Regions from separate parts of the Homo sapiens genome. Here region 2 is linked to region 1. The links are contacts of gene promoters, found by promoter capture Hi-C in blood cells and fetal thymus (Javierre and others, 2016). All regions are on one chromosome and are shown on one strand. The core of a region is centred on a gene start or on the middle of the fragment in contact, and the rest is flanking DNA. Distances in the headings are between cores, read along the strand shown.

What was found. The method cuts DNA at HindIII sites, captures the fragments that hold promoters and counts their contacts. A CHiCAGO score of 5 or more calls a contact.
Region 2: a fragment that was not itself captured here is called in contact with the fragment with the promoter of PPM1F in region 1 in 1 of 17 cell types (neutrophils); the score reaches 6.2 in neutrophils.

What each region holds. Positions count from the first base shown.
Region 1 is chr22:21,950,957-21,955,729 of GRCh38, forward strand. It overlaps PPM1F (protein phosphatase, Mg2+/Mn2+ dependent 1F), which reads right to left and starts at 1,892. Exons shown (of 8, transcript NM_014634.4): 1 at 1,836-1,892. RefSeq lists enhancers at 1,045-1,114, 1,161-1,681 and a silencer at 1,675-2,084. The HindIII fragment of the contact is 22,373 bases long and covers 1-4,773 here.
Region 2 is chr22:21,852,766-21,857,538 of GRCh38, forward strand. The region is part of intron 1 of MAPK1 (mitogen-activated protein kinase 1); the gene reads right to left. Among named protein-coding and RNA genes, the nearest start is that of MAPK1, 12 kb to the right of the region's middle. RefSeq lists an enhancer at 3,077-3,578. The HindIII fragment of the contact is 7,079 bases long and covers 1-4,773 here.

The DNA of each region.
Region 1 (4,773 bases), core at 642-3,141:
TTTATTCATAACTACTAATACTAATAATAGTTAGATGTAAATCCTAGATTTTTTTTCTACATATATAAATTTTTTTTATTGTTGTAAAATATACACACTATGTATCCTTTTAACCATTTCTAAGCGTACAGTTCCATGGCATTAAGCATAGTCACATTGCTGTGCAATGACCATTTCTTTCTACAGGCCTGACTTTCTTGATAGACTGTAAGCTCCCTGTAGTCAGGGAGCCCACGATGGCCCTTTGTGTACAGCAGGTGGTAAGTGTGATGGCAGAGGGAAGAGTGACTGGCGGGTGGCATGGGCTGAGGAAGCTACACCACTCTGAAGGGTGCAGTGGGCAGCAGCGCCAGGTCTTAAAAGACTCGGTTGGCTTCAGGTCAGATGGTATCCTTTTTTTTTTTTTTTTTTTTTTTGAGAGGGAGTTTCGCTCTTGTTGCCCAGGCTGGAGTGCAATGGTGGGATCTCAGCTCACTGCAACCTTCGCCTCCCAGGTTCAAGCAATTCTCCTGCCTCAGCCTCCTGAGTAGCTAGGATTACAGGCACCTGCCACCACGCGCGGCTAATTTTTGTATTTTTAGTAGAGATGGGATTTTGCCATGCTGGTCTGGAACTCTTGACCTCAGGTGATATGCCTGCCTCGGCCTCCCAAAGTGCTGGGATTACAGGTATGAGCCACCGCGCCCGGCCTTCAGGGGGTATCTTAAAGGAATTCCACAAATGAACTTGTGTAGAGGTTCATGGCTTTCAGAAATGCATTCGTTTTGTTTACCTCTCACAACTACGCTGAGAAGTACATACTGTCAGGCTACACTGCAGATGAAGAAATAGGTTATAGGAGGGCAAGCACCCATTTAAGGTCTCACACAGGTGAAAGGGCAAAGCGAACTCAATCAAGGTCTCTGGATGCCCAATGCCTTTGGTATTTCCACCTCGCGTGCAGGAGGAAAAGAGCGAAATTTGACAACAGAAGAGACTGGAGATGGCCTCAGAGTGCTGGCCGGCCCCACTTTCTATCCCCCGTGGTGAGAGCTCAGCTGGGCCCAGAGAACTTGTCCCGGGGAATGCCACCACGACATGTGTGACTCTGTCCCGCAGGGTGGAAGGCTTCGAAGGAGCCCGCCACCATGCAGTGGGCCTCACTGTGTGTCAAGCGCTGTGCCGAAATCCCTGCAGCCGGAGCCAGTTCTTCCTGTTGTACAGACAGGTTCAGGGGCTTGCCTGACCGAACCCAGCGGCAATGTGCCCGGCCTCCGCGCCTGAGGCTCTGGCTCACAGACCTGTGGCTGAAGCAGCTGCAGCCCGAGCACTTGTGCAGCTGACGCTCGCTTCACGGACGCTTGGGAGGCCGCGGAGCCGGGGGCCATCAGGCAGACTGGGCCCCTGAAGGTGCAGGGACTGGGGGGATATGGGGCAACGTGCCGGCCCAGAGGCTCCTGGGGGGTGGGGAGAGGCCAAATCTCGGAAAATGGGGCGCGTCCCCCTCAGCACCCGATTCTGCCTCATAGCCCTCGGTCCCTACCAGGCCCTCGGCTCGGCCACACCCCCGCCTGCCCCCCAGTTCTGCCCCCTTGGCTCCCCAGCCCCCCAACTCCCAGCCTCGGGTTCCTCATGTCCGCAGCGGCCCCTCTTGCTCCTCGGCCCCCCGCACTGCACCCCCGCACCCTTTCGGTGCACCCATGTGAGCCTCGTCTCGGCCTCCTTGCCTCCCCAGCCCTCTGATTCCACCCCTCCGGTTCCTCGGTCCCATTTCACCCCTGTGCGCCTTGGGCGCTCGCCTGACCCTCGTCCCAGCCCCGTCAGCCCTCTAATCCCGTCCCCCCCGGCCTCCTCACCCCTGGTCTCCGCGGGCCTCAGCTGTCTCCTCGCGGCTCCGTGTCCCGCAAGCTGCTGCCGGCCGGCCCCGCCCACTTCCCGTCCCTGGCCGCCGCGGGCGCCGCGGGCGCCGCGCAGGCGCAGTCGGGCCTCCAGGCTGGCGGGGCCGGACCTCTGCTGCCCCCTGGCGGCTACGTGGACGGTGACTGCGGCCCTTTAGTGGTAGGCGAACTGCGGCTCCACCTGGGCTCCGGAGCCGCCCCAGTCACCAGCCTCTTGCTTCTCTTCTGCAGCTTTGGGTGGGCGGCTGGATGGGGAAAGCAATCCCTAGGTCACAGCGCCCAGAAATTAAGCAACTTCTGCCGTCAATAGCTGGTAAGTGACAGAGCAGGGATGCAAACCCAGACTGCCCAGGCAGGCTCATCCGTCCGGGAAGGAGGCACAGTCCCAGGCTCATTATGAGTTGTTTGTTTCCACAAACGTTGAGGCTTTTGTTATCTTTCCGTTCTGGAGGTCAGAAGTCCACTTAGCCTCAGTGGGCGAAGATCCAGGGATCGCCAGAATGCGTTCCTTTCTGAGGATTCTAGGGGAGAAACTGTTCCCCTGCCTTTTCCAGCTCCTAAGGGCTCCCTGCATACCTTGGCTCGTGGCCCCTTCCTACAGCCTCGAAGCCAGCAATGGCCAGTTGAGCCTTTCTCACACTGCCACCTCTGGTTCCCTCCTCTGCTTCCTTCTGCTACTTCTAAAGACCCTCCTGATGCCATTGGGCCCACCCAGATAGTCCAGCATCATCTCTCTAAATCAGTTGATTAGCAACCTTAATTCCCCTTTGCCCCTTATTATTATTATTATTTTTTTTTGACACGGAGTCTCACCCTGTCACCCAGGCTGTACTGCAGTGGCATGACCTCGACTCACTGCAACCTCTGCCTCCCTGGTTCAAGCGATTTTCCTGCCTCAGCCTCCCGAGTAGCTGGGACTGCAGGCACGCACCACCATGCCCGGCTAATTTTTTTTGTATTTTTAGTAGAGATGGGGTTTCACCATGTTGGTCAGGCTGGTCTCAAACTCCTGACCTCAAATGATCTGCCTGCCTCGGCCTCCCAAAGTGCTGGGATTACAGTACAGGCGTGAGCCACTATGCCGGGTCTGCCATGTAATCTAACACAGGCACAGGTATAGGACATGAACATCTCTGAAGGGCCATTTTTCTGCCAACACAGAGGCTCTTGAAAATATTCTTTTTCTCTCTTTTTAGAGACAAGCTCCTTCTCTGGTGCCCACACTGGAGTGCAGTGGCATGATCACAGCTCACTGCAGCCTCAAACTCCTGGGCTCAAGTGACCCTCCCCTCCTGCCTCAGCCTTCCTAGTGTCTGGGAACACAGGCAAGCACCACCACGCCCAGCTGATTAAAAAAAATTTGTAGAGACAGGGTCTCTATGTTGCCCAGGCTGGTCTTGAACTCTTGGGCTCAAGTGATCCTCCTGCCTCAGCCTTCCCAAGTGCTGGGATTATAGGTGTGAACCATTACACCTGGCCAAAATATTTTATTTTAAAGGCAGAAGAAAGAAACCTTTATGTCAAAGAAAATGTTTTAATATATGATATTAATATATTCACCTTTATACCAATGCCGTTGGAAAGTATAATTTTTTAAATGGAGGATGGGGCACCAGATCTTATGTGGCTCTGCCCACCTGACCTTCAGGTCCGCAGGCCTGTGTCCTTGCCAGGAATGAATGTCTCTGGGATGCTTCTCTAACAGGAGGAACCTGGAGTGAGACCAGGAACCTGGAGAACTAGCAGCTGGGTGACTGGAAAGGAAACCATCTGGGGTGGGGTTGGGTCTGCAAGGCAGGAGGTGTCTGGGCAGAGAAAGCAGGGCTGGGGCGGAGGGTCCTGCCTCATCCCATTCTCCTGCTCACTCTTTCCTAGATCCCTGTCAGGGCAGTAACCATGAGCAAGGCTTGAGGCTACTTCTTATAAACAGTGGCCCTGGGCACATTCCTTAGCTCACCTGAGCCTCAGTTTCTTGATGAGAAAAAATCGGGACAATAGCAACCAACCTATCTCAGAGGGCTGCTGTGAGACCCTGAGCCACTGTTTCTCAAACTGCCCCTGAGATCACCTACAACAGAATGGCTGTAGGGTGAAGTTTGAGAACCGCAGTACAGGTGAGGTGGTGCGTGGGGCAGGCCCTCCCACACTGTAAAGTGCAGTGTGGTGCGGTAAAAGCTGATATTCCCGCAGGCATCCTCAGAGTGGGCCCAATTAGACTCTTGAGCACTGATTCCATTCAAGGTCTGCGGCTTAGAGAGGATGGCAAAGTGAGGCACCACCAGGAGCTTGTCCCTATGGGCTCCAGGCCAAGGACGTGCCTGGAGATGACTCCTGCCTTGTGGCGCTGTCACTGCCTCACTGTCCACATTCCATCACGCCTCAGATCCTGGCTTCCACCCTGGTGAAAGGAATCTTTCAATATCACCCACCCAGCCACAGACGCTTCTCTGCTTCTCTGGCAAGGCTGCACCCCTGGCTAGGTGGGCAGGGCCAGGGGCTCCTTGAGACAGTCTGCAGCCACTGACCTCTCCAGCCTCCAGGGCAGAGGTACAGTCCCATGGAGCGTGGCTGATCTGAAGGCAGTTCTGGCCTAAAAGGGGTCTTGTCCCTTCCTTGTCCTCATTGCTCCCAAGGCCAGGTTGGCAGCAGTAGCAGCGGGGTTGGATGCTATTGGATGGGAGAAGGTGAATGGACTCGGAGTGCAGAATCAAGCTGCGGAAGCCAAGGGCCTTGAAGGAGGGTCACACACAAGGGACAACTGCAGAGGAAAATAAAGGAACACTTTGTGATTAGCCCTGCCTGTGGCTGAAAGCGCAGTGCAGAAGCATAGTAAGGAAGGACTGGGTGGTCTGGGTTTAAGACCTAGGAACCGTCTCTGCTCCTCCAAGCCTGAATG
Region 2 (4,773 bases), core at 732-3,231, 98 kb before region 1:
GGGAGGTGGAGGTTGGATTCAAGTGACAGCGCCACTGCAGTCCAGCCTGGGCGACAGTGAGACTTTGTATCAAAACAACAAAACACATAACAGTCATTAATTACCACACATAAAGGTGCTTAATGGATAATAAGTGCTCAAGGAAATGGCAGTCATGGTGGTGGTTGCAGAGAACAACTGGAGGGGATTAAGAGTGGTGGTAGAAACCAAGCAGAAACCAGTCTAAGAAAACCAAAAAAATACCAGGCAAATAGTTTCAAAGGAAAATTATACCATTTTAAGATAAGGTAGACTGGTGGCTGGCGCCTGTAATCCCAGCACTTTGGGAGGCCGAGGTGGGTAGATCACCTGAGGTCAGGAGTTTGAGACCAGTCTGGCCAACATAGTGAAACCCCATCTCTACTAAAAATATAAAAATTAGTTACACGTGGTGGTGTGCACCTGTAGTCCCAACTTCTTGGGAGGCTGAGGCAGGAGAATCACTTGAACCTGGGAGGAAGAGGTTGCAGTCAGCCGAGATCATGCCACTGCATTCCAGCCTGGGTGACAGAGCAAGACTCTGTGTCAAAAAAAAAAAAAAAAAGACAAAGTAGTCTTAATGCTATTTCAGAACACAGAAAAGGAAAGAAAACTTCCACACTCATTTTATGAAGCAAGTGTAATGGTAACCCCAACCTGACAAAGACTGCACAAAAGATACTACAGTTGAATACTACTTACGAATATCAACACAAAATCTCTGAATATTAGCAAACAGAATCCAATGGCACATTATAAAAAGGAATACAAATAAACAAGCACAGTTTATTCCAGGTATGAGAGATTCCATATAAGGAAATCTATTGACATGATCTTCACATTAACAATGTTAAATGTGATGAAATCATATCATCTTCACGGAGGCAGTAAAGACATCTGACAGCTGGGTGCGGTGGCTCATGCCTGTAATCCCAGCACTTTGGGAGGCCAAGGCGGGTGGATTGCCTGAGCTCAGGAGTTCACGACCAGCATGGGCAACAGGGTGAAACCCTGTCTCTACTAAAATACAAAAAATTACCTGGGGGTGGCAATACGCGCTTGTAGTCCCAGCTACTTGGGAGGCTGAGGCAGGAGAATTGCTTGAAACCAGGAGGTGGAGGTTGCAGTGAGCTGAGATGGCACCACTGCACTCCAGCCTGAGAGACAGAGCAAGACTCCATCTCAAAAAACAAACAAACAAAAAGAAACAAAAAACTAAAATAGGAAATGATGGATACTGCCTTAAGTAAACAAAATACACCTCGGTCCAAAGCCAGCATCTGACTTCATGTGAAAACATTAGAGACTTCCCTGCTAACATCACACACCACATAAGGCTAAAATATTTTCCAATTTACATTTTTAGAGGTAAGCATTAAATTCTATGATGCCAGACAAACATTTACCAGATTTTTTTTTTTGAGATAGAGTTTCACTCTTGTTGCTCAGGCTGGAGTGTAATGGCGCACAATCTCGGCTCGCCACAAGCTCCGCCTCCCAGGTTCAAGCGACTCTCCTGCCTCGGCCTCCCGAGTAGCTGGGATTACAGGCATGTGCCACCACACCCAGCTAATTTTGTATTTTTTGTAGAGACGGGGTTTCTCCATGTTGGTCAGGCTGGTCTCGAACTCCTGACCTCAGGTGATCCGCCTGCCTCGGCCTCCCAAAGTGCTGGGATTACAGGTGTGAGCCACCGCGTCTGGCCAAAATTTACCAGTTCTTGAATGCTGAATCCTGCTGGGATAACTGGAAACACTCCTAATGTTACTATAAACTCTCACACTGCCTTGTTGGCAATAATTAAATAGCTCTTTCTAGCAGTTGTGTTCAAGTGGACAGATAATCACAAATGTCTTTTCTTTCTAGCTCCCTTTGGACGAAAGAAAGAAAGAATTTACAACACGTCTAAAGATTGTCACTTTTATCATCCCTTTGAATGATAAGTGATCAGGGCTGTCCCAAAAGAATGCCTGAAAACATTACAAAATGTTATCATAAGCAGAATGGCTCACTAAGGGGATGAACATTCTGGCAAGTCTTAATCTAGCATCACTACCAACTGTTTTTTCACTGGTCTAAAACATAACATCTAATATTTTTATTTGCCTATATAGCCCTGCAGTAATAATTAACTTGTGAAAGGTCTACACTGATTTTTTTCTTTATAAAGTATTTGCTTCAACCATGGAACAGAAACAAAGTTGATTTAATGGGAAAAATGTAAATTTATTTGAGGATAGGTTCAGCACTGCTAAATTGAAAAGGGAAAGAAAATTTCAAACAAACCCCAAAAAGAAACATTTTCACATCTGTAGTGAAAAAGCTAAATAGCAGTACACTAAACTTGGTTACTGACAAAATAAATCCTTGTGGCCAAGGTGAGGCAAAGATATTACTCTCTACTTTGCTAGCCTACCTTGTGTTCAGTGAATTCAAACATTAATTGGGGCAATGTATTGTTTTTGCTTCATTTTCTTTAGCTGTGCAGTAAAGTCTTTGCTTTCATAGAAAGATTGTGCCAAGTTCTTTCTTTTTCAGAATTGCTTTTAAATCAGTTCTATTTAAGTATTTCTCTCTCTCTCAAACTTGACATTTTTCATTACACCTTTTTTTTCCAATGCCAAAATAGCAGCATTAACATTCATTCCAGTCACTAGGTAAAAACTCTCTTCAGTCAAACACACATGAATAATCTAATTCGTGAGGTAAACGACTACTGTCATACAGTATTACGAAGTTCCAACCTTACTTGCAGAGCAAAAAATAAAAAATAAAAATAGTCATTTTCCTCAAGGGTTTAATTGTGGGCTTTTAATGTTGAAGTAAATCAATTTACTAGTTTTTAACCTCAAGTTTTTCCCTATTTCATTATATCTCAATAATGATTATCCAGAGATTTCTGAGGTAAATTACATTAAAGACAGCGCTAGTAACTGGGAAACAATCCACACATGAATCTTAATATATTGCATATATGCTAATTTCATGTAATGTTCCTGAGGGCGGTGACAATATTAGAGCTGTACGAGACCCTAGAGACCATCCCAATCCCTTAACTCCACAGATGAGAAACACAAAAACTTGCAGAAGCAGAGTGACGAGCACATGCCCATGTGACATGTCATCAGAAGCAGGGACCAAGACTCAGGTCTCTTGCCTTCCAGGCCAGTCCTCTTTTGGTAGGCTAAAAGCTGCCTTTCACAGCTTCCCACAAATTTCAACACATCCTCACTCAAGTACGTTTCTGAAAGGGACTCACCGACAACTCTTTAGAGAAAAGGAACTATATCTCAAACCATAGGAAAAGTTCTATATCTAGCTTATCAAACTTTTAGTCTCTGAAGCATGTGAGAGTAAGTTTGCCAGTATTTCTTTCTCATTATCCCCCAATACTTTAGTGACTATTTCCAACAAACAAAACTAGACTATTCTCCCATACAAACAAAATGCTACCATCAAAATCGTCAACGCTCACCTGTCAGATTATGACCAAAGGCCTCTAAGTCAGAATCCCGCCCAGGCAAAATGACATGGCAGCCAACTGTGGAGCCTCGGTTGGCCTCGGATAGCTGGTCCCCCCTTCATTCACACCACATATCTGAGGACCAGATATGGAAAGCCTCTCATGCTGGAAAACTTGGCACAGTAGAAAGGCGGCCACACTTTTGCCCGTCACACAATGCACATTCACGGGGGACCTGTGCTAAACCATTCACAGACAACCTGTTTCTGGGTCAGGGTTTCGTATACAGCAGAGCAGTCAGCTATCGACACAAGGGTTTGTAACAAAAAACAAAAAACAACAAAAAAAAGGAAGGACAAACCAAAACAAAAAAGAAAATACCAAAAAAAAGAAGAGTTAAAAAAAAAAGAAGATAAAAATAAAATCATTAACACAGATACACGACTACAATCTAATTTTCAGACATTCTAGTTTTGCCAATCATGCCGATTCAGAATCATGAACCACATGGAGTTGCCATGTTTCTGCACACTTCTTTAGTGTGGAACAATTCCTCAGTGTTTTCTTGGTTCCATGATCTTGACTTAATTTTGAGGTTTACAGGCCAGTTATTTTGCAGAATATCCCTAAACTCGGGTTACCTTGATGTTGCCTCCTGAAGATTTGGATTATGCATGAAACACTTGACTGTCCCTATTCTAACTATATAAAGATGCTCCTTGACTTACTATGGACTTACATCCCAATAAACCCTTCATAAATGGAAAACCTCATAAGGTGAAATGCTTGTTTTTTTTGGGAAAGTTTCTTGCTCTGTTGCCAGGCGGGAATGCGGTGACACGACGACGGCTCACTGTAGCCTTGACCACTCAGGTTCAAGCGATCCTCAGCCCCAGGCTCCCAAGTAGCTGGGACTATAGGCACGTACCACCACACCTGGCTAATTTTTTTTTTTTTTAATTTTTAGTACCTTTAGTACAGAAAAGGCCTCACTATGTTGCCTAGATTGGTCTCAAACTCCTAAGCTCAAGGAATCCTCATGCCTCGGTCTCCCAAAGTCCTGGGATTATAGGCATGAGTCCTGCACCCAGCCTAGCTGAAAATACATTTAATACACCTAACTTACCAAACATCACAGCTTAGCTTAGCCTACCTTAAACATGTTCAGAGCACTTACATTAGCCTACAGTTGGGCAAAATCATCTAACGCAAAGCCCATTTTATAATAAAAGTGTTGAGTAACTCATATGATGTATGAAATACTATACTGAAAATGAAAAACAGAACAGTTG